Linked DNA regions of Homo sapiens: all the other regions are linked to region 2. Evidence: promoter capture Hi-C in 16 types of primary human blood cells and fetal thymus (Javierre and others, 2016). All regions are on one chromosome and are shown on one strand. The core of a region is centred on a gene start or on the middle of the fragment in contact, and the rest is flanking DNA. Distances in the headings are between cores, read along the strand shown. Region 1 overlaps AKR1D1 (aldo-keto reductase family 1 member D1). Region 2 holds the start of SVOPL (SVOP like). Region 3 has its middle 11 kb from the start of MIR4468. Region 4 has its middle 23 kb from the start of CREB3L2. Region 5 holds the start of CREB3L2-AS1 (CREB3L2 antisense RNA 1). Region 6 overlaps AKR1D1 (aldo-keto reductase family 1 member D1). Region 7 overlaps LOC124901753 (a long non-coding RNA gene).

The links. Contacts are between HindIII fragments. The CHiCAGO score rates a contact against its expected background, and 5 or more counts as called.
Region 1: a fragment that was not itself captured here is called in contact with the fragment with the promoter of SVOPL in region 2 in 7 of 17 cell types (erythroblasts, endothelial precursors, M2 macrophages and 4 more); the score reaches 8.0 in erythroblasts.
Region 3: a contact is called between a fragment that was not itself captured here and the fragment with the promoter of SVOPL in region 2, in 1 of 17 cell types (endothelial precursors). The highest score is 5.4, in endothelial precursors.
Region 4: a contact is called between a fragment that was not itself captured here and the fragment with the promoter of SVOPL in region 2, in 1 of 17 cell types (M0 macrophages). The highest score is 5.2, in M0 macrophages.
Region 5: the fragment with the promoter of CREB3L2-AS1 here is called in contact with the fragment with the promoter of SVOPL in region 2 in 12 of 17 cell types (fetal thymus, naive CD4 T cells, M0 macrophages and 9 more); the score reaches 9.2 in fetal thymus.
Region 6: a fragment that was not itself captured here is called in contact with the fragment with the promoter of SVOPL in region 2 in 7 of 17 cell types (endothelial precursors, erythroblasts, megakaryocytes and 4 more); the score reaches 8.9 in endothelial precursors.
Region 7: a contact is called between a fragment that was not itself captured here and the fragment with the promoter of SVOPL in region 2, in 1 of 17 cell types (M2 macrophages). The highest score is 5.6, in M2 macrophages.

Annotation. Positions count from the first base shown.
Region 1 is chr7:138,089,619-138,092,844 of GRCh38, forward strand. It overlaps AKR1D1 (aldo-keto reductase family 1 member D1), which reads left to right. Exons shown (of 9, transcript NM_005989.4): 3 at 2,150-2,266. It also overlaps the pseudogene RN7SKP223. Among named protein-coding and RNA genes, the nearest start is that of AKR1D1, 15 kb to the left of the region's middle. The HindIII fragment of the contact is 6,515 bases long and covers 1-3,226 here.
Region 2 is chr7:138,699,548-138,702,866 of GRCh38, forward strand. SVOPL (SVOP like) reads right to left here and starts at 1,815. Exons shown (of 16, transcript NM_001139456.2): 1 at 1,631-1,815. It also overlaps the pseudogene UQCRFS1P2. The HindIII fragment of the contact is 672 bases long and covers 1,353-2,024 here.
Region 3 is chr7:138,132,746-138,135,804 of GRCh38, forward strand. No RefSeq gene overlaps it. Among named protein-coding and RNA genes, the nearest start is that of MIR4468, 11 kb to the left of the region's middle. The HindIII fragment of the contact is 9,735 bases long and covers 1-3,059 here.
Region 4 is chr7:138,023,894-138,027,206 of GRCh38, forward strand. It overlaps the pseudogene LOC100128052. Among named protein-coding and RNA genes, the nearest start is that of CREB3L2, 23 kb to the left of the region's middle. The HindIII fragment of the contact is 2,150 bases long and covers 658-2,807 here.
Region 5 is chr7:137,952,067-137,955,019 of GRCh38, forward strand. CREB3L2-AS1 (CREB3L2 antisense RNA 1) reads left to right here and starts at 1,282. Exons shown (of 4, transcript NR_161346.1): 1 at 1,282-1,458. The region is part of intron 1 of CREB3L2 (cAMP responsive element binding protein 3 like 2); the gene reads right to left. The HindIII fragment of the contact is 9,042 bases long and covers 1-2,953 here.
Region 6 is chr7:138,107,989-138,110,907 of GRCh38, forward strand. The region is part of intron 7 of AKR1D1 (aldo-keto reductase family 1 member D1); the gene reads left to right. Among named protein-coding and RNA genes, the nearest start is that of MIR4468, 14 kb to the right of the region's middle. The HindIII fragment of the contact is 4,177 bases long and covers 1-2,919 here.
Region 7 is chr7:138,069,240-138,072,209 of GRCh38, forward strand. LOC124901753 (a long non-coding RNA gene) reads left to right here. Exons shown (of 2, transcript XR_007060553.1): 2 at 1,452-2,608. Among named protein-coding and RNA genes, the nearest start is that of AKR1D1, 5.7 kb to the right of the region's middle. The HindIII fragment of the contact is 7,969 bases long and covers 1-2,970 here.

The DNA.
Region 1 (3,226 bases), core at 50-2,549, 610 kb before region 2:
CCTTTAACTTTAATCCTTTAAATTGTCCAAAAAGTACAGTTGTGAATAGAAAGCAATATTTATACGTATACAATGTCAATATGGGCTGTATGTAATAAAGCATACTTGGGCGAAATATTGGTGTTTACTTACGTAAACAGAAACAGTGTGTGCAGCTGAGTTCATGTAATGTGCCATTGCTATTGCCTCATCAGGACTGTCTTCACTGCAGCTCAGCAGCACCTGAGAGGCAATGTGGGGGTGATTAAGAGCCTAGACTGGTGCAAGGTTGCCCAGGTCAGAGGCCCAGATCTGTCACTATTGGCTGAGTTGCCTAGCATTTCTGGACCTCAATTTTTTTTCTCTGTAAAATGGGGATAATAATGTCAACTATTTCATAAAGTTGTTATGAGTTCACATTTACAAAGCACTCACACCGAACCTGGCACAAAGCTAATACTATGTATGTTTGTTGAATAAAAGTAAATTAAAATATCATCAGCCTATGCCCAGGAATGAAAAAGAAAGTAAAATAAATATCAAACAGAATTTCCACTTAGATGGGATTGCAATAGGAACACCAAAGAGACCCAGAGTAGCAATCAAAACACACGTAACACATTTTTCCACTACTCTCTTCATGTTAAATTTTCTCTGTGTTTTTAAGGCAAGAAAAAAATCATTGTCCAACAGAGGAAAAAATCAGATATTACCAATTTTGCTTACCCTTTCTTGTGACCAAAAAAAGTATGATTCAGGCCGGGTGCAGTGGCTCAAGCCTGTAATCCCAGCACTTTGGAAGGCAGAGGAGGAAGGATCACTTGAGGTCAGAAGTTCGAGACCAGACTGGCCAACATGGTGAAACCCCATCTCTACTAAAAATACAAAAATTAGCCAGGCGTGGTAGCAGGTGCCTGTAATCCCAGCTACTTGGGAGGCTGAGGCAGCAGAATCGCTTGAACCCGGGAGGCAGAGGTTGCACTAAGCCAAGATCAAGCCACTGCGCTCCAGCCTCAGCAACACAGCAAGACCCCGTCTCAAAAAAAAAAAAAAAAGAAAAAAGAAAAGTATGATTCTAAACTTATATCCCCCCAAAAAAATCTGTGAGCAAAACTGATATTCCAAAAGATGTACTAATTTGTCCTGTGGGTATAAGCAACCTTGGCACCGTATGTCTCAGACACTTAAGGGTACACATGCTCCAGTAGGATCAACCAAACCTTGATCCTTCATTATGTAATGCCTTAGCGAAAGAGTAATTTAATTGCTCTGGGGTCTAAGTAGGACCAAATAAGAACAAAAGATCAGTGAAAGCAAATCTAAATCTATGCACTAATTTAAAATTTCACCAGGCTTTCACACCACCTGTCACAATGTGAAGGACCCAGTGAAGCCACACGCATAACCATATTCCTTGCTCATTTTATCAGAGTGGCATGACAATAAAGTATCACGCTAGGTCAGGACATCTAGAACATTGTGTAACCCTAGTTATACAATGAGGAAAAATGCAAGCACTAAGCATCAGGAAATTCACCCGGAAATGGGGAAGACTGCCATCAAATTAGGTACTCTGTGGTCAAGGAGGATCTGTAAGTCTCTTGTGGTAGATTTGCATAAAATTATGTCTGGAGATGTGAGGGTGATCTGGCTGTAACATATGTCACCCCATTAGTCACCAGGGCTAATTCAGCTGATCTGGCTGTCTAGGCAATTGTACCTCTTGAAGCTGCACTCTCAGTGGAAGAGGACGGCTTTCCCTGATGAAGGAGGAGGGTTTTTAGGTCAAGTGTATGTGAGTAGCTGCACTCCCCTACTAGAACCTCCAAACAAGCTCTCAAGCTAGGCTCTGAGTGTCAAGAGTTTTATCAGCTCATCCTATACTCAGATGACACTGCATCATAAACATATTTTTGTGAAATGAAATGTGTGAATAAAATGTGTACAAGCGGCTAGGCACGGTGGCTGATGCTTATAATCCCAGCACTTTGGGAGGCTGAAGTGGGCAGATCGCTTGAGCCCAGGAGTTAAAGACCAGCCTGGGCAACATAGTGAGACCCCCCATCTCAAAAAAAAAAAATGTGTACGAGTGTTTTACAAAGAAAAAGGGGCTGCCTTATCGTAAAAAGCGTGTAGACATTAGTTAATTCTCCCTCTTTGATTCTTTCAGCTATGGGCTACAAATCATGTCCCAGAGATGGTCCGCCCAACCCTGGAGAGGACACTCAGGGTCCTCCAGCTAGATTATGTGGATCTTTACATCATTGAAGTACCCATGGCCTTTAAGGTGAGTTCAGATGCCCAAAGGTCAGGTCTCTGCACCCTGGCAACCATGAGCCAATAGCTATGTGCATGAAGCTCTGCACCATGAGCCAATAGCTATGTGCATGAAGCTCTGCACCATGAGCCAATAGCTATGTGCATGAAGCTCTGCACCATGAGCCAATAGCTATGTGCATGAAGCTAGCGTATTACTTGGCACCACAGAATATTGTGGTGTTTTGTTACCACAGATCAGAGAGTACTGACCTAGTCTGACAAATACCCGAGAAGATTATGTTAGCAGACTCAGGCTTGGTTTCCAAGTTTCTTGATTTTTTAATTCAATGCAATTTCTATTATACCATGTTTTTACAACTATAGTTTAAGCTCTCTGCATCAAACCAACATGTAGTCCTCTAACTGTAGCCCACCATTGAGACACACACCCTTCTTCCCACTCACACAGTCACAATCTCCGCCCTCATCCTCACTTTGTTAATGCTGACTCTTGTTCAAATGTCAGATTTCTAACCTAAGTCTTAAAAATTTAGAAAGACCCAGTGTACAATTATGTGTTGCTTAGCAATGGGATACATTCTGAGAAATGTGTCATGAGGTGACTTTGTTGTTCTGCAAACATCATATAGAGTGTACTTACACAAACCGAGGTGGTAAGGTTTTATTTACCATGGTAGACTGCATTACTTTTGTAATAACATGAATAAAACGCAAACACGTTGTGCCTAAATGGTATAGCCTATTACAGACTTAGGCTAGATAGCCCAGCCGATTGCTCCTAGGCTATAAACCTGCACAGCATGTTACTATTCTGAATACTGTAGACGATGGTAACACAATGGTAAATATTTGTGTATATAAACATAACATAGAAAAGGTACAGTAAAAATATGGCATAAAAGATAAGATACACCTATACCTGGCACTTACCATGAATGGAGCTTGCAGGATAAAAATTGGATGAGTC
Region 2 (3,319 bases), core at 565-3,064:
GGAAAATAAGACCTCAAAACCTCTCCAAACTAGTCACTTCATCTTACTTATGAGAGGCACGACAAAATGGATACTTTTCACCAAAATTCTCCTGTGTTCTACATTGCAAAATCAATATATTTTAGAGGAAGAAGAAGCTTTCAAACTTCAGTTCTTCCAAAGGCATAGTTGGTGCAGGGGGTGGGGTGAGGGTGGAAAAAAAGGGCTGGTGGTGAGGTGTGGCTCCGAGGAGCAAGTCAGCCCTCGCCCCGCCACCGGAACAGCGTTCAGTGCCCGTCACTTGTAACACTGGTCTTCCCAATGCATAGCCCTTGAAGATAATCAGGGCCGGGTGGGTCCCCGGTGTCAGGGGAATTTGCCAAGAGGGGGAAGAAACAAACGTACAGGTTTACCTGCAACAGAGAAAGTCCTCATTCCCACCCTATTAGGATACAGAGTTTTCAACAACAGGATTCCTTTGGTGGAGCAAGTTGCAGGGCACAGGGCTGTTGGCAGGAGATTATCAGGATTGTAGCGTTCACATCTGTACCTTGGAAAGGGGCTTACTCTCCAAGTCATTAAAAGGACACTCAAACACAAACTCAAAGTTAGTTAGCATATATATGAAATGTATTTTCTTGGTAGTCTCTAGAGTTTCAGCCAAAAGCTACATGAAGAAAGAAGAGAACAACATGTTTGAGAGATGGAGATGAGGAACATTATTGAGAGATAGAGCTTGCAATCTTAACTCAGCAATGGAATGCTGGAAAGGCTGAATTGACATACTCTGTTCTTTGGTTCCGTATGTCTTTTTTTTTTTTTTTTTTTTTGAGACAGAGTCTTACTCTGTTGCCCAGGCTGGAGTGCCGTGGTGTGATCTTGGCTCACTGCAACCTCTGCCTCCCGGGTTCAAGCGATTCTTCTGCCTCAGCCTCCTGAGTACCTGGGATTACAGGCACCCACCACCATGCATGGCTAATTTTTTTGTATTTTTAGTAGAGACGGGGTTTCACCATCTTGGTCAGGCTGGTCTTGAACTCCTGACCTTGTGATCCACCCACCTCAGCCTCCCAAAGTGCTGGGATTACAGGCGTGAGCCACCGCACCCGGCTGGTTTCCTGTGTCATTCTAAATCCTTTCTAACCCAGTAAGAGGATGGATGGATGGATGGATGGATGGATGGATGGATGGCAGATGGATGATCAGTTAGACCAACTCAGGAAAATAGGGAATAACATGGAAAAGAATGCTTCGCGTCCCTCACTATAAGTTCCTAAAAAGCTACAATGGGAAAGTAATCCATGACCTACCTTCACAAAACCTGGTGAGAAACTGATAGATTGGGGATTTTCCCTGAACTCAGATGGAGTTCAAGCTTCATTAAAACAAATTCTAAAGGACTGATTGACATTTTATTCTATTGTATTTTGTTATACTGATTGTTTTTTAACCAGAAATAATTGGGCCACAGTAGATCTTTTTTAAACTGAGTTTTGTGTGTGATGTGTGATGTAATTTGTTTTGCAATATCCAAGGAAATTTTCATGCTCCATTTGCCTTCGGCCACAAACTAACAGTCAATGCCCCACCCCACCCTCTACAGCAGCAGGAAAAAATAAGTCCAGATCAATGTTGCCCACAAATTTCTCACCTCTGTATATTCCTTGGACAGTCTTCCAATTTCAGGCTCTTTTGCTCCCCTCACCGTGGCCAAGTCTTAGACGGAAATTGGAGCACAGATGGCTTCTCAGGGGTGGCCAGACTTGTGTTCCCAAGACGCCTGGCTCCCTGGTCTTATCCTCTCCTTTCAGGTCGGGTCTCAGATCAGGATTCTTTAAGGGCCAACTTCGCATTCTGGGCAAGTGAATGACACCTAGGGCACACCCTCTTCTCAGCAGCCTGCACTTGATCTCCTTTTAAAGGGGAAATTACATTTCTTGTTAAGACTGAAAGAGGCTGCCGAACTTTGGAGGAAATTACTATGTTGTTCTCAGGACAGCTGGAAGAATTTCTGAAAGAGAAGACCTAGGCAAGGGGCAGAGGGAAGCTTTGCCCTTGCAAACATTTGCTCACAGCCATTGCTTAGAATTAAGGAGCAGGTTCATGCCCATCCTGTCAGCCATATCCTGCAGGGTGGCAGGCATGCTGTAGCCCCTGGTATAGGCCATGGTGCCTGCCACCCTGAAGCTGCCTGTGCTGTACAAGAGCAGCCTTTGCTATGCCAGGAGTCACTGAGTGGCCAGGCCATGAGCCTGTCTTGGGTCAACTCTGTGGGCCTCAATGTCCCTGCTTCTGTTCGTTATTCCCATACAGACATCAATGTGCCTGACTTCCCTGATTACTGTTGCATTGAGATTTTTGATGGGACAAAGTCTTCAAAAGAGGATGGCGAGGCTAGGAAAGGGTTCTCCTATTTGGTAACTGCAACAACTGCTGTGGGTGTCACATATGCTGCCAAGAATGTCATCTCCCAGTTTGTTTCCAGCATCAGTGCTTCTGCTGATGAGTCGGCCGTGTCGAAAATTGCAATCAAGTTATTTGATATTCCAGAAGGCAAGAACATGGCTTTCAAATGGAGAGGCAAATCCCTGTTTGTATGCCACAGAACCAAGAAGGAAATTGACCAAGAACCTGCAGTTGAAGAGTCCCAGCTGAGGGCCCATAGCATGATTTAAGGGCCAGGCACAGTGGCTCATGCCTGTAATTCCAGCACTTTGGAAGGCCGAGGTGGGCAGATCACTTGAGGTCAGGAGCTCAAGACCAGCCTGGCCAACATGGCGAAACCCCATCTCTACTAAAAATACAAAATTAGCCAGGCGTGGTGGCATGTGCCTGTAATCCCAGCTACTCGGGAGGCTGAGGCAGGAAAATCACTTGAACCTGGGAGGCAGAGGTTGCAGTGAGCCGAGATTGCACCATTGCACTCCAGCCTGGGCAACACAGTGAGAATCTGTCTCAAAAAAAAAAAAAAAAAAGAAGAAGAAGAAGAAGTAAAGGATGGGCCGGGAGTGGTGGCTCACACCTGTAATCCAAGCACTTTGGGAGGCCAAGGCGGGTGAATCACTTGAGGTCAGGAGTTCAAGACCAGCCTGGCAAACATGGTGAAACTCCGTCTCTACTAAAAATACAAAAATTAGTCAGGCGTGGTGGTCCATGCCTGTAATCCCAGCTACTCGGGAGAATGAGGCAGGAGAAGTGCTTGAACCTGGGAGGCGGAGGTTGCAGTGAGCCAAGATCGCGCCACTGCACACTCCAGCCTGGGAGAGAGAGTGAGACTCTGTCTGAAAAAAAAAAAAAAAAGATAAAAAAGGAGTAAAGAATGAGTGCAATGCCTATCAGG
Region 3 (3,059 bases), core at 166-2,665, 570 kb before region 2:
TGTTTCCCACAGTGGCTGCACCATTTCACATTCCCACCAATAGCGTACAAGAGTTCCAGTTTCTCCACATTCTTGCCAATACTTGATATCTTTCATGGTTTTGATAATTGCCATTTATTGCCTTTTTCTGTTGAGTATTTGTATGTCTTCCTTGGAAAAATATCTGTTCAGGTTCTTTGCTCATTTTAAAATCAGGTTGTTTTTCTACTACTGAGTTGTAAGAGTTCCTTATATATTTTGGATATAAACTCCTTATAGGATCTATGGTTTGTGCATATTCTCTCTCATTCTGTGGGCTGACTTTTCGTTTTGCTGATTGTTTCCTTTGCTTTGCAGAAACTTTTTACTTTGATATAATCCTGCCTGCTTATTTTTGCTTTTGTTGCTTGTGCTTTTGGTGTCATTGACAAGACCTCTGTCATAGAGCTTTTCCCCTATATTTTCTTTTAGGAATTTTATGGTTTCAGATCTTGCATTTAAATCTTTAATCAAGTTTGAGTTGATTTTTGTGCATGGTGTAAGATAAGAATCCAATTTCATTTTTTTGTTTCTTTTTGAATGTGGATATCCAATTTTCCCAACATCATTCACTGAAGAGACTATTCTCTCTGCATTGTATATTCTTGGCATCTTTATTGAAGATTACTTGATCATATATGTATTGGTTTATTTATTGGTTTCCTGTTACATCCCATTGGTTTATGTGTGTTTGTTTTTATGCTTGTATCATATTGCTTTAGTTACTATCACTTTGTAATGAAATTTGAAATCAGAACACAAAGCCTCCAGCTTTGTTCTTCTTGATCAAGATTGCTTTAACTATTCAGGGTCTCTTGAGGTGCCATATAAATGTTATGATTTTTTTTCTATTTCCATGAAAAATGACATTGGCATTTTCATAGGAATTGCATTAAATCTATAGATCACTTTCAGTAATATAGACAAGTTTCCAATATTGATTCTTCTGATCCATAAACATGAAATACCTATTTATTTGTGTCTTCTTCAATTTTATTCATTAATTCATTATGTTTCATAGTTTTCAGTATACAGATATTTCACCTTTTTGGTTAAATTTATTTCTAATTATTTTATTCCCGTTGATGCTATTATAAATGTGACTTTTTAAAAAATTTCTTGTTCAGATAGTTTATTGCCAAAGTATAGAAACACAAGTGATTTTTATATGTAGATGCTGTATCCTAAAACTTAACTGAATTCATTTATTAATTCTAACACTTTTGGGTAGAATCTTTAGGTTGTTCTATACATAAAATCTTGTAATCAGCAAACAGAGACATTTTGACTTCTTTTCTGATTTGGATGACTTTTATTTCTTTATGTTGCCCAATTCCTTTGGCTAGGACTTCAGTACTATGTTGAAAAAAAAAGTGGTGAGAGTGAGTGTAATATTGTGATATAATAAAATATATATATACTTGGTCTCTGTCCCTGGTTCCAGGCACAAAGCTGCTAAAATCCTTGAAATCTGCAAAGCGATATGTATTTTTGTATGCTAATGAGATGGCTGATCACTGAGTACTCCTAGATAACCACAGGATAGTTGCCAGGGGTGCCAACCATGTGATTGGAGGGTTGAAACTTTCAGCCACACCCCCCACCTCTAGGGAGGGGAGAGGGGTTGAAGGCTGATTTGGTCATCAAAGGCCAATCATACCTACCTAATGAAGTCTCCATTAAAAACCTAAAGATGGCTGGGTGCAGTGGTTCATGCCTGTAATCCCAGCACTTTGGGAGGCTGAGGCAGGCAGATCACCTAAGGTCAGGAGTTTAAGACCAGCCTGGCCAACATGGTGAAACCCCATCTCTACTAAAAATACAAAAATTAGCTGGGCATTGTGGTGCGTGCCTGTAGTCCCAGCTACTTGGGAGGCTGAGGCAGCAGAATTGCTTGTACCCAAGAGGCAGAGGTTGCAGTGAGCTGAGATCACACTGCAGCACTCCAGCCTGGGCAACAGAGAAGGAACTCTGTCTAAAAACAACAACAACAATAACAACAACAACAAAAACCTAAAGAGACAGGTTTTGGAGAGCTTTCTGGTTGGTGAACACATTTACATACTGGAAGGGTAGTGTACCCCAACTCCATAGGGATGAAAGCTCCTATGCTCCGGACCCTTCCAGACTCCACCCTATGTATCTCTTCATCTGGCTGTTCATTTGTATTCTTTAAAATATCCTTTGTAATAAATAGGTAGATGTAAGTAAAGTATTTCCCTGAGTTTTGTGAGCCACTCTAGCAAATTAATAGAACCCAAGGAGGGGGTCTTGAGAACCCCAATTTAGAGCTGACCGGTCAGAAGCACAGGTCACAACCTGAGGCTTACCATTGACATCTGAAATGGGGGCAGTCTCAAGGAGCTGAGTCCTTAACCTGTGGGATCTGACTCTATCTCTAGGTAGATGGTATCAGAATTGAGTTAAGTTGTAGGACACCCAGTTGGTGTCTGCTGGAGAATGGCTTGGAAGTCTGGTGAAGAGCCCCTACACATTTTGCATTAGAAGTGTTGTGCTGAGGGGTATGTGGGATTAGGAAAAACACTTGGTGTTTCCCATTTCTTAATAGTGGACATCCTTGTCTTGTTCCCAATCTTAGATAAAAGATATTCATCTTTTCACCATTGCGTATGATGTTAGCTGTGGGCTGGTAATATATGGACTTTATTGTGCTAAGGAACATTCCTTTTATAACTAATTTGTTCAGAGTTTTAATCATTAAAGGATGCTGAATTTTGTCAAATGCTTTTTATGCATCTATTGACATGATTTTTGTCCTTCACTTTGTTAATACAATGTATAACATTTACTGATTTGCATATGTTGAGCCATCTTTGCATCCCAGGCATAAATCCAAGTTGATCATGGTGAGTGATCCTTTTAATATGCAATTGAATTTGGTTTGCAAGTCTATTGTTGAAGATTTTTGCGTCTACGTTCCTCAGGAATATTGGGCTGTAATTTTTTTTTTTTTTTTTTTTGGAGTGTTCTTGTCTGGCTTTCATGTCAGGATAATATTGGCCTCACAAATCCAGTTGGAA
Region 4 (3,313 bases), core at 483-2,982, 680 kb before region 2:
CAAATATGGGCCAAAGACTTACAGTCCAAAAGAAGTAATTTTCTTAAACAAATTAGAAGAAATTTTAGATATAATTGAACCATTGGAATTTGGAAGATCATGGAACCTCTCTTCTGGCAGCTAGCCAAATGTGTCTCCAGCTCACACTTCCAGGTGGCAGAGCAAGCGCTCTATTACCGGAATAATGAATACATTATGAGCTTAATCAGTAACAGCGCAGCAAAGATTCTGCTGATCATGTTTCCATGCTTGTACTGCAATTCAAAGACCCATTGGAACAAGACAATACATGGCTTGATATCCAACACACTGAAGCTCTTCATGCAGATGAACCAAAAGCTATTTAATGACTGTACCTAACTGTTCAAAGCAGAGAAACTGAAAGAGAAGCTAAAAATGAAAGAACAGGAAGAAGCATTGGTTAAAATAGAAAATCTAACCAAAGCCAATCACCAGGTACTAAAAAAGAGAGTAACATGAAAATGTCCAGGGTGTTACTTGAATGTTTTCATAAGATAGGAATATATCTTCATCCTGAGAAGGAGGGATATCATTGGCTAAATAAATGACATATAGTGACCTGGGATTCTATTTTGTAATAGTAAGTGTTTAAACCTTTGATATTTGACAAACTTTCCAAAGTCAACTTCTAAATTAAGCTTTTTCTTTGATCTGGCTAACTCTTTTAGATATTAGGTACCCTAAAGTCCAAAAGAGACATATTTGGCTTATTTGGCATACTAAAACCATACAAAAAATATTGCCAAATATAAAATGGTGTTTAAACTTTCTTTGGGTCATATTCATATAAATATATTATTAGCATGTGTTCCAAAATTGTATAGGATTCCCATAATTCTGATATGTCCTATAATTCTGATATGTCTATATATTATCAGTAACAATTATAATTGTTATGTTAAATTGTTTTGTGCCATAAGGTGATCAGACTTTAACCACAGCTGTTCTGAGACTTTAGCCCCTCACTCGGCCTGGGCAGCCCCTCCCCTGACCCTGCCACGAGCAACCCCCTTGCTCCAGTACTCTTCAGGCCCCGGTGGCCTGGTGTTCATTTTGCAGGCCTGAGTGGCGGTGAGCAGAGTTATTTGTTAGGCTAGGGGAGAGAGGTGGCAATCCCCAAAGGAAAGGGAGCCTCAAACCCCTCTGTATGCAGTTGCCAATTGTTATTTCACTCTGATTCTTTTCATAGGCAGTTTTATAATCAGCTATAGGACTCTGAGAGTTGCCCTGGAATTTAAGTTTCTGATAACTTTGAAAATTGTGACATTAGAATAGAGGGAAAAACTTCCAAGACTGCCATAGAGAGTTAATGTGTTCATAAATGTCAAGCAGGACAGGAGTTAATTACATAGACTGAACTAATGGAAGACCAAAATAGTCTTTTTACAACTTTTTGTTTGAAACATTGCTAATTCTTTTGTTTCACAGAGTTCAGAAAACCTTTTGTCTTTTGTACTGTTTGCAGCTTTTAGCAACTGGGTAAATTACATTCTTGAGAGTAAAATTTAGAGCGTATTTCTTTCTGTCTACCTGGTTTCCTCAGAATTTGAAAACTATTTGTAAGTGTACTTAATTTATGGCAGTATAGTTGTTTGCACAAGTTCAATAAGAATCTTTTTTCTTTTGTAACAAGACACCATTGGAGACCCTGGTGATTTTACCAAGGCTTTGACTAGAGTGGCATACTTTCAGGTATAAACAGACTGCTTTAAGTAATCACAGTTGACTTATAGAGCCAATAAAAGCCCCTTGGGAAAACTGGCCTCATACCTTGTCTACACAGTCCTTGTATAGAGTTCCTCACCTGTGGTAAGTAAAGAATGTCACCTGACAGGTCCAGGAGCCCCAAATTACCTTGGGGCCTTAAGGAGAGGAATTCCCCCAACTCATATAAGTATTTGCAGGTACAGATAAATCCATGACTGGGCTCAAGTCTTTAAAAATCTAATCTGAGATTCCTTATGGAATAAAGGAATCAAACACTACCAGCAAAGTCAATTTTAGAAAGAGTCTATGTGGCAAGTAATAATTCTTGCTATACTTTATGCAAATATTCAGGCCACAGATGATAAGACTGAAATTTATTATGCAAATAAATTGGTTCTACAATGACTTGTCTTTAGTAAAAATAACTAGAGAGAAAAAAATATGTTTTAGAAAAAAAACATAGCACACCTGTTGTTAGAGTCTAGTTGTGTTCACTGTTTGTTTGTGAGTTTTTATTTTCTGCAATTTGGACTGAATCCTGAATTCCATCCAGGCTTCAAGTCCCAAATTATTGCTTGAAAATTTTTCTGACTTGGAATCAATGAAATTACTACTACATTATTCCTTGTAATATAGATGAGAAAGACATGTCAGACTACCACAGCCTTCCTCTTCTGTAACTAAAGATGCTTTGAGTCTAACATCTGAATAAATTGTGCTCAGTGTTAACCTTTGTTTTTCTTCTGTCTCCATAGAAATGACTCTTATTAATAATCTGTTTGCCTTTATCACATGTAGAGGCCTAGCCCACCTGCAATGCCACCTCCTGGATGGGACACAGATATTTAACTAAACTGATCCATTCTCAAGAACTAGACAGTGCTTATGACAATGTTCATGAGTATTCATAGCTCTTCCTGTAACCTGTTAAATACATATTTAGCCAACCTGTCATTATATCCAGTTATGATGGGCAGTGGACAACCTGTATGATAATTAAGACTAACTGCTGTGTATACATCCCAGTAAATTTGGGAAATGTCTCAGATAGCCCTGCAAGATACATACCAACAAATCAAAGCTTTGTCTGACTCCACATTGTCACTAGACCAGTGATTACTGTCCTGACTCAGGTCAGTACCATCCTGGTAGCAAAAGCTGGCTGTAACATTCGCCCTGATTTCAAGGATAGGCATATCCCTCTGTTGTGGAGTTTACTGCTGCTGCACCCTCCATATGGGAATGCGAGACGGGCTTTCCCCAGAGACTTTCCGGAACTTGCACCATAATGGTCCAACGAATATCATCTGTAAAGTCCAGGTATTCATGAATATTTCCAAATCCAAACAGATCAATTCCATACCAATACCCAATAACTACACTGTCTTTCAGCAGGAAGTAGCCAGAATAAATACAGTACCCCAATTTCACAGAGATGGAAGGGAACTTGGTAGTGGGGAATTGTAACCAAGTACTCCCATTTTCCTAAGAAATAGTTTATTTGTTTTCTTTCTCTCCTTTTCTTTTTCCTCCTTTCCCCACTTTTTACTTAGTCCTTTAGAAATGCAGATTTCTAAATTTTAAT
Region 5 (2,953 bases), core at 32-2,531, 750 kb before region 2:
CTTTGGTAATATGTTATTTTCGTAATTTAAAAATAAAATTTCAAATGCAAATTTACTCCCATCCATTAATATCTCTGAGAAAAATCCACAAGTCCTTATTGTCAAGTATATGACTAATACCCTGTTCAGCAGCCCTACAAAAAGGTAATTAAAACCATCTAGAGGCCTGGTGAGGTTTGATTTACTTTTCTGGGAAACTTGGAAAAGATCTTCCTAGTATGGACCTGATTTATCATCTGACTTTGAAGGTTCTCCTTGTGTTTGATTTCTATTAACCATCTCTTCCACATACTCAGCCTCCTTCCCAACTTCCCCATGGCTGAGAGGATATCCCCGCCCAGCCCTCAGGCTCTCAGCCTTTCAACTCAAATGTCACCTTAGAGAAACAGTGTCCATGACCCCTACGGTAGCCACAGGTCCCATTTTGTCATCTTCACTGCATTTGCCAGTCTGTGAAATTAGCTTACTGATTTATCTGTTCCAGTTTTTATGATCTGGCCCCTGCTTTCCCGCCTTTGCACTAGAATATACAGGGACTGTCTGTCTTGCTCAGTGTTTGACAGCCACCCTACCTACCCCACCCCAACTCTACCACACCTAGAAGGAAGTGCTCAGTAAGTATTTGCTGACTTACTAACTCTTAAGTTTTTCCTGATTCCTCTTTCTCCTTTGACCCCAAATCCAGATATAATCACTTATTTACCTATCTATCCTACTCCAGGAGGAGTTTAAGAATAATTGTTTTTGTTTTTGTTTTTTTTAGACGGGGTCTCTCTCTCTCACTCTTGTCAACTAGGCTGGAGTGCAGTGGCGTGATCTTGGCTCACTACAACCTCCGCCTCCCGGGTTCCAGCGATTCTCCTGCCTCAGCCTCTAACGTAGCTGGATTACAGGCGCCTGCCACCACGCCTGGATAATTTTTGTATTTTTCGTAGAGACAGGGTTTCACCATGTTGGCCAGGCTGGTCTCGAACTCCTGACCTCAAGTGATCTGCCTGCCTCGGCCTCCCAAAGTATTGGGATGAAAGGCATGAGCCGCTGTGCCCAGCCAGTTTAAGAATATTTCAATCACTTAGTAAGACCTTTTAATGTAAACTCCTTGATGTCTCTTGACTTCATCCTGATTTATTTCCTGGGAAACAAGAGAGCTCAGGGTTAGACAGTTTGTTCCCTCTAAGTCACTGTAGTTTATGTTAAGTGGGATTAGCTCCCGGTGGTGTTTCACTGAAAACCTGCTTACCGCTTAGTTGATTAACTGCTACTCCACATAACACATTCCTTCCTTATGACCAAATTACTGCCAGAGCCTTCTAACTTCTCTGCACCCACTCCAGTCTAGCTGAGGCCTGAGGAATAGATGGATAAATAACAGTATCTGAGACCTGCTGTTGGTGTATGTTAAATGTTCTTTAAAAAGCGTCAACCATCCCCAACACACGACTCTCCTGAAAGGGAAAGGTATGCGGGTTTGCAGAGGAGGGGAGAGTTGGGTGGGTGATGACGGTCTCAGAATGTGACTCTAGAGAAATCATTTCATCTCTGTTGGAAAGTCCTTGTTTCACTTGCATTGTGTTTTAAGGCTGGGAAGGGGTAGACACTGAGCTCTTTCTAATGCCAAGCCTTCATCAGAAAGCAGCTGTAATATAGAAAAAATGCTTTGCCTAATCCTGTTTTCATGATGGTTTCTAGGCAACCGCTTGATGCAAACTAGTTTGTAAACAGCTGGCAGCTAGATAACCAAGAGAAAAAGGGGCACTTAAAACAGACGGTCAAACAAAGATCTGCAGAAGGGAAAGGCATCATCATGGGTTTTTCACACAGCCCAGTAAGATCACAAGGTCCTGTAACCTCTCCAGGAGGGAAAAGCAGCAGGGGTGTGTGAGCTGTAAACCTGGAAGAATAAACAGCACTCTCCTGATGAATCACAGGGAAAGAGAAATTCTTCATGTCATTCTTCACGGAGGAGACAAGATCAAAATCTTGAGAGGCTACCTCTCTGCATGGGTTTCTGTCTGGTATTCTGAAGTTCCACAAACATAAGTAGAGTCCTGCCCTTTGACCTTGAGATACAGGTTGTACCTGTCCTGTCTACGCATGAGGGATAACTAAAATGACAACTGAAATTGTGAAATGACCCACAGCATTTAATGATCACCGAGAACAAAAGTGTAGGATCTTAGTGCTTGTTTACATTTGGCTTGAATTGTGTATTATTTTTCCTGAAAAAGAAAGACTAGTAATCCTAGGGACATAATCCACAGCTTACAAATACTCTTGCTCTTGCAGGTGGTGACAGCAGATAGCTACCCAGAAGTAGGGGTGGACCCAGGCAGGGGGCAGGGGGCTAGGGATCCTCTCAGAGGTTCCTGTTTGCTCCCTGTTCTAACTATAATGGCCACGGCTTTCTATTTTCAGAAAACTTTTAGCAAAAAGGAAAGAACCACAAAGAAATCATCAGGAGCACTGCAGGCAGCACACATTTAAGCTCTATAAAGGCAGCTTATGCTTGCGTCCAAACTACCCTAGGAGCACTCCTATTTTTTAAAATGAATAACTTTGTGTTGCCAAACTCCCCAGGTCCACCACATGTAAAGTTTATCTGTAACAGCAGCCTAAAGAGTTTGGAATGCTCATGGTATTGTCTGGCCATGAGAGAGGAGGTAAGAGGAGAAGAGGAAGGCATGGAGGCTAGAAAGTAGGAAGACCAGCTGCCCCAGTTGCCTCAGACTTTTCTGGTTGTAAAGTTCCACATCCTGGGATATCTCTCAGTCCCACAGAAGTCGGAACAACTGCCCAACCTACAAAGGAATAGAAAGAAGACTACAAACGTTGCCTAAGCACAAGTGTAATTAGTCACTCAAGACTCCCAGTGACTGAGAACCCAGACCCAAGAAACCAGGTCCTGTAACTGCCAGAGTCTGGGTTCTTATTTAACATAAAACTCTAAAGTTCC
Region 6 (2,919 bases), core at 395-2,894, 590 kb before region 2:
CCTTATCTATTGACCCTTGACACTACCTACTCACTTCTCTACCAGCACAACAGAAATTGAGTGAATAAAATTTGGAATTCATAATAGTCAACTTTCCACCTTCTTAATGGCTCTGGTAAAAGTTGAGGACAAATTTGAAAATTATTGAAGAGGACCATTTAGACTTCATGAATGCTAATTGCCTTTACTTCCCTCTATAAGTAATCTATGACTTACGTTGTAACTTCCAAGTGAAGAAAGAACTAGACAAAGGGGTAATTCATTTATTCCGCTACTACTAAAGACTAAACTGCTAGGTAAACACAACCATAGAAAAGTGCCATACAAAATTAATTAATTACCCATTAGCTAATTTACATTTCAAAAGTAAATTGCCTGTTTAGCCCTACTCATAATTAAAGATAAATAAAAAGTAAGATACTAGTTGTCCCTTCATATCAGAAAATAATCAAAATACTTGGTAATATTTGGGGAAACAGGCGCTTTGACACACTATTGTTAGAAACATTAATTTGTATGAGATATGGAAGAGTAGGTTAAATTATTTCATGTCCATCAAAATTCAAATGTACATGTTACATGATTTATTTATATGTGGAACCTAAAAAAGTTAATCACATAAAAGTAAGGAGTAGAATAGTGGTTACCGGAGGCTGAGATTATTGAAGGGAGGGTGCTATGAGGAGATGTTGGTCAAAAAAGTTGTGATTACAGTTAGAAGGAACAAATGTCAAGAGATCTATTGTACAAAAAGGTGTCTATAGTTGATGATGATATAGTGTATTCTTGAAAAACATAAAGAGAGTGCATCTTATGTGCTCTTACCACAAAAATGATAACTATATGAGGTAATGCATTTGTTAATTAGCTAGATTTAACCACTCCACAATTTATATGTATGTCAAAACATCATGTTGTATATGATAAAAACATACAATGTTATCTGTCAAATTAAATAAATTCAAATACACTTATCCATTGACTCAGCAGTCTTACCCTATAGATGTATTTGCACATATATACATGGGTGCACACACACAGACAGATGTTTATTATAGAATTCTTTGTAATTTTTTAAAAACTCAAAACAATCTTCAACAGGATTTTATAAAACAAGCTATGACATATTTGTACACTGAAATATCATATAGCCATTTAAAAAATACAAGTACTGACATAGGAAGATAGCCACAATATTAGACAATTACATCTTCAGAGCTTTTTTGCTACATGATAGAATGCAACTCAAACTTTAGCAAAAAATAAAAGATAATTTATTGGCTTGCATAACTGGAAAGTCCATGAGTAGATCAGAAATGGCTAGACACAGGTACTCAAATGATTTATAAAGAGATTTAGTCCTCTCTCTCTCTCCCTCCTTTCTCTCCACCCACATGGTGGCACAGACAATTCCTAACAGCTCCAGGATAATCAATTACTCATACTCAGTGAAGAGTGAAGATGATCAGAAACAAAGTCTTCTATCAGGGTCTCTATCAATCCCTGATTAGCTCCTGAAGGTCACCCTCATATTACCCACTGTGGCCACTGAGTAGGATACCCTGACCCCAGGGCTATATCCCTATTCCTGTGCTGAAGAAGTTAACAGACAGCTCCACTAGAAGGGGGAAGGAAAGTTCGTAAAAAGAAAAAAGGCGAAAAGATGCTGAATAGTTACATCAACTCCTGACAATAACATTTGCCAAAATGCCTCATCCTAAAAAGTGGTTGACACTCTTTTCCACAATCTTAGAAAGAGATCAACTGCATTACTAATGTGTAGGCTCATTGAAGATTAAAACACATTTTGATGGACTTTTTGAGGACTGAAAATTTTGCTGTTCAAAAATTATAGGAGTGTTACAAGTGACCTTTGCGATGGAAAGCATTTGGACTTTATAGCATCTAGCAAATCGCAATTTTGTACCAGAGAAAATGCCACTCTCCTTGAAATTTTCATTGTAACTAATTATGTTATATTCCATATGTTTCCATAGCCTTGATAATAAAAGAATGGAACTCAGAGGTCACATATTCCAAGAAAAAAACGGATACAGATTTAGAAGGAAAATGAGAATGAAAATCACAGCCAATTCTCACTCTTTAGGGAATAGACTCACCCAATAACCATGAATTTTGCTGGGTATGAAAGCAAGGAGCAACAAAATAATAAATTATGCTCTCTTAGAATGAAGGTAAAATAAACTGTTAGAAATATTTTAAAAGAATGGCAAAGATCAATAAAGCATAAAGAATAAAGGGAAAAATAAATATTTTGATGAAAAAAGAAAAGCAAAAGAAAATAAAAACTATGTAGTAAAAAGTTAAGACTGGGCACAGTGGTTCACACCTGTAATCCCAGCACTTTGGGAGGCCGAGGCAGGAAGATTGCTTGAGACCAGGAGTTTGAGAGCAGCCTGGGCAACAAAGCGAGATCCCATTGCTTTAAAATTAAAAAAAGTTAAGTTAAATCATCAGTTTAGGCTGGGTGCGGTGGCTCACTCCTCTAATCCCAGCACCTTGGGAGGCTGAGGCAGGTGGATCACCTGAGGTCTGGAGTTTGAGACCATCTTGGCCAACATGGCAAAACCCCATCTCTACTAAAAATACAAAAATTAGCCGGGCATGGTCATGGGCGCCTGTAATCCCAGCTGCTCAGGAGGCTGAGGCAGGAGAATCGCTTGAACTAGGGATGCGGAGTTTGCAGTGAGCTGAGATCATACCATAGCACTCCAGCCTGGATGACAAGAGTGAAACTTTGTCTCAAAACAAATAAACAAAAAACCATGAGTTTAAAAACTAGATAAAATTAAAGGTAAACATGAAGAAAGCTAATACGGAGCCAGGATATTTTAAAAGTTAAAATTTTAAAAAAAAGAAATTATACCAGGTGTGGTCCAGCTTTGTTGCCATCATCCA
Region 7 (2,970 bases), core at 287-2,786, 630 kb before region 2:
GAGTTTATAAAACTAACTTCATTGGTTACATGTATTTTTCTAATGGTCCTGGACTGATGTATTCAACAAGTGATTGACTAAATGGCGCTAAAATGTCATCTAAAGTATCTGACTTAAGATATACTCTAGACATTTTTATTAACCTTTTTATTAATGGTAATAATTAATTATGCTAATAGTAATAATAAATAATACTAATAATTTAGTAAAATTTATTATTGATAATAGCTCTCCAGTAAACAGGTCAAATCAATTTTCATCTCTGATACAGTAACAAGCAAACATTTTTCTACCATCAGATCTACAGAGAGAAGAGTATCTAATACTGTGAGCATATTATATACGAAGGTTTCAATTTATTTTCATTTAATTATGACTAGTTTGGATTAGTCATTTTTGTAGTCCCTTTAAATATGTTGTCATTGATCAATGTATCTACCCTGTTATCACTTTATTGGAGGGAGTAGAGTGTAGTGACTAAAAGCATAGGCTCTGGAGTCAGACAGCCTGGCAGTTCTTCCAGTTACTAAGCAATTTTTGACAAAAACTGTTTTGGACCTCAAGACTCTTCCTATAAAACAGGAATAATAATATTACCCACTGCATTCCTTTCTAAGGGCTGCCATAACAAATTACCACAAACTAGGTGGCTTAAAACAAACAAACAAAAATTATTCTAGCACATTTCTCGATGCTAGAAGTTTGAAATGAAGACATCAGCAAGGCCATGCTCCCTCTGAAGTTTCTAAGGAAGAATGCTTCTTTGCCTCTTCCTTTCTTCTAGTGGTTGCCAGCGATCATTGGCATTCTTCGGCTTGTAGATGCATTACTTCAATTTCTGTCTCTGTCATCACATGTCATTCTTCCCTAAGCCTCTATGTCTCTGTTTTCTCATCTTATAAGAACACCAGTCATTGGATTTGGGCTTACTGAAATCCAATAGTAACTTATCTAATTATATCTGCAAAGATCCTATTTCTAAATATAAGGTCACATTCTGAGGTTTCAGATAGACCTGACTTTGGGGGGACACTAAATGATCCAGTATATTCACCACATAAGATTGTTGTGAAAATTAAAGAAGCCATGTAAAGTACATAGTAAATACCAAACTTAATCTTATTATTTCTGTCAATATAATTTTTATGGATTTATGGCCACAAAGAAAGTATAATTCACAAGCAATTTTTTTGTTGAATGAAAATAGGAGCTGTTTTAGGTCAATTTATTTTGAAAATATTAATATATAAAGAGTAACTTGAAACATTTCTGATGAGAAAAGCAATGTAATATTTAGATTCCATCAATTTAGTAAGGATGTATATAATACATTAAAAATTAAGAAACATGTGAGGGTTCTAGTTCCAAATAAGATGGAGTCCCCCACTGAATACAACTCTAAAGCCTGCCTTCTACAATGAGAACATTAACATTCTATGCCATTTAAACAGGACCCAAGGAGATTGAGGCTGCAGTGAGCTGTGACTGCACTACTGCACTCCATCCTGGAAAACAGAGCAAGACCCTGTCTCAAAAGCAAACAAACAATAACAACAAACAAACAAACAAAACCAGGACCCAGGATCTCATAACCTAACATTCAAAAAGTTCTCAATAACCAAAAGACAGCAAAGCCAAGATGTCATAGATGTTGTACATACTTATATGGTGAAAACTTTAAGGCAGCGATTACAAAAGTTTCCCAGGAAACAATCAAGAACACTCATGAAGCCAGTGCAAAAGTAGAGAGTCTAAGGAAAGAAATAAAGCATACTTAAAATAACTAAATGGAAATTTCAGAAATGAAAAATATATCTGACATTTAAAACTCACTGGAGTGGAAAGATGACTAAGCCTAAGAGACCTGTAGGACACCATCAGCCATACAAACGTATACATAATAGCAGTACAAGAAAGAGAGGAGAGAAAAAAATAAAACACTATTTTTTGAAGAAATAATGGCCAAGAAACTTTCCAAATTAGGTGCAAATCATGACACTACACATCCAAGAAGCTCAGTGAACTCCAAGAAGGACACAGCCAGAGATCCACAGAAAGACACATTACTGTCAAATTGTCAAAACCTGAAGACAAAATCTATGTAACAATAATATCATAAAGGAGTAGGCTGATGGAGTTTTTAAAGGATCAAAATGTTTGAATACTATTAAAACTGGGTTAGTATTAATTCAAACTTGATTGTTACAAAGTTAAGATGCTAATCGTAATCCCCAGGGTAACTCCAGCGCTATGGACTGAATAGTGTCCCCCTAGATTTCACAGGCTGAAACTTGAATTCCCAGTGTGATGGTATCTTGAGATGGGGCCTTTGAGAGGTAACTAGGTTTATATCAGGTCATGAGGGTGGGTTCCTCATGACGGGCTTGGTGTCCTTTTAAAAAGAGACCACAGAGCTTGCTTACTCTCTGTTTCTCCTCTTCCCCACCTCCCCAGTCCCCAACACACTGTGAGAACACAGCAAGACAGCCATCAACAAGCCAGGAAGCTCTCTTCCTGGCTCTTAACAGAAACTGAATTGGCTGGCACCTTGATCTTGGACTTCACAGCTTCCAGAACTGTGCAAAATAAATGGCTGTTGTTTAAACCACCCGGTCTATCATATTTTATTATGGCAGCCCAAAATAAGACACCCAGAAAACAATTTAAATATACAAAATAATCCTGCAGGAATTTTAAACACACAAACTGATTCTAAAACATATATCGAAAGTAAAAGAGAAAGAATAGCTAAAATACTTTTGGGCAAGAAAAATAAAGTCTGAAAATTATACTATATGGTTTTAAGGTTTATGATAAAGCTACAAAAATCAAGACAGTGTGGTATCAATGAAAGAAGAGACAAATAGATCAGTGAAGCCTATTTCTATGTGGAGTTCACAGAAATAAAGCAAAAAAAAAATCAATGAAACAAAGTAGAAAGTCATAGACCCACCAATATATGGCCTTTTA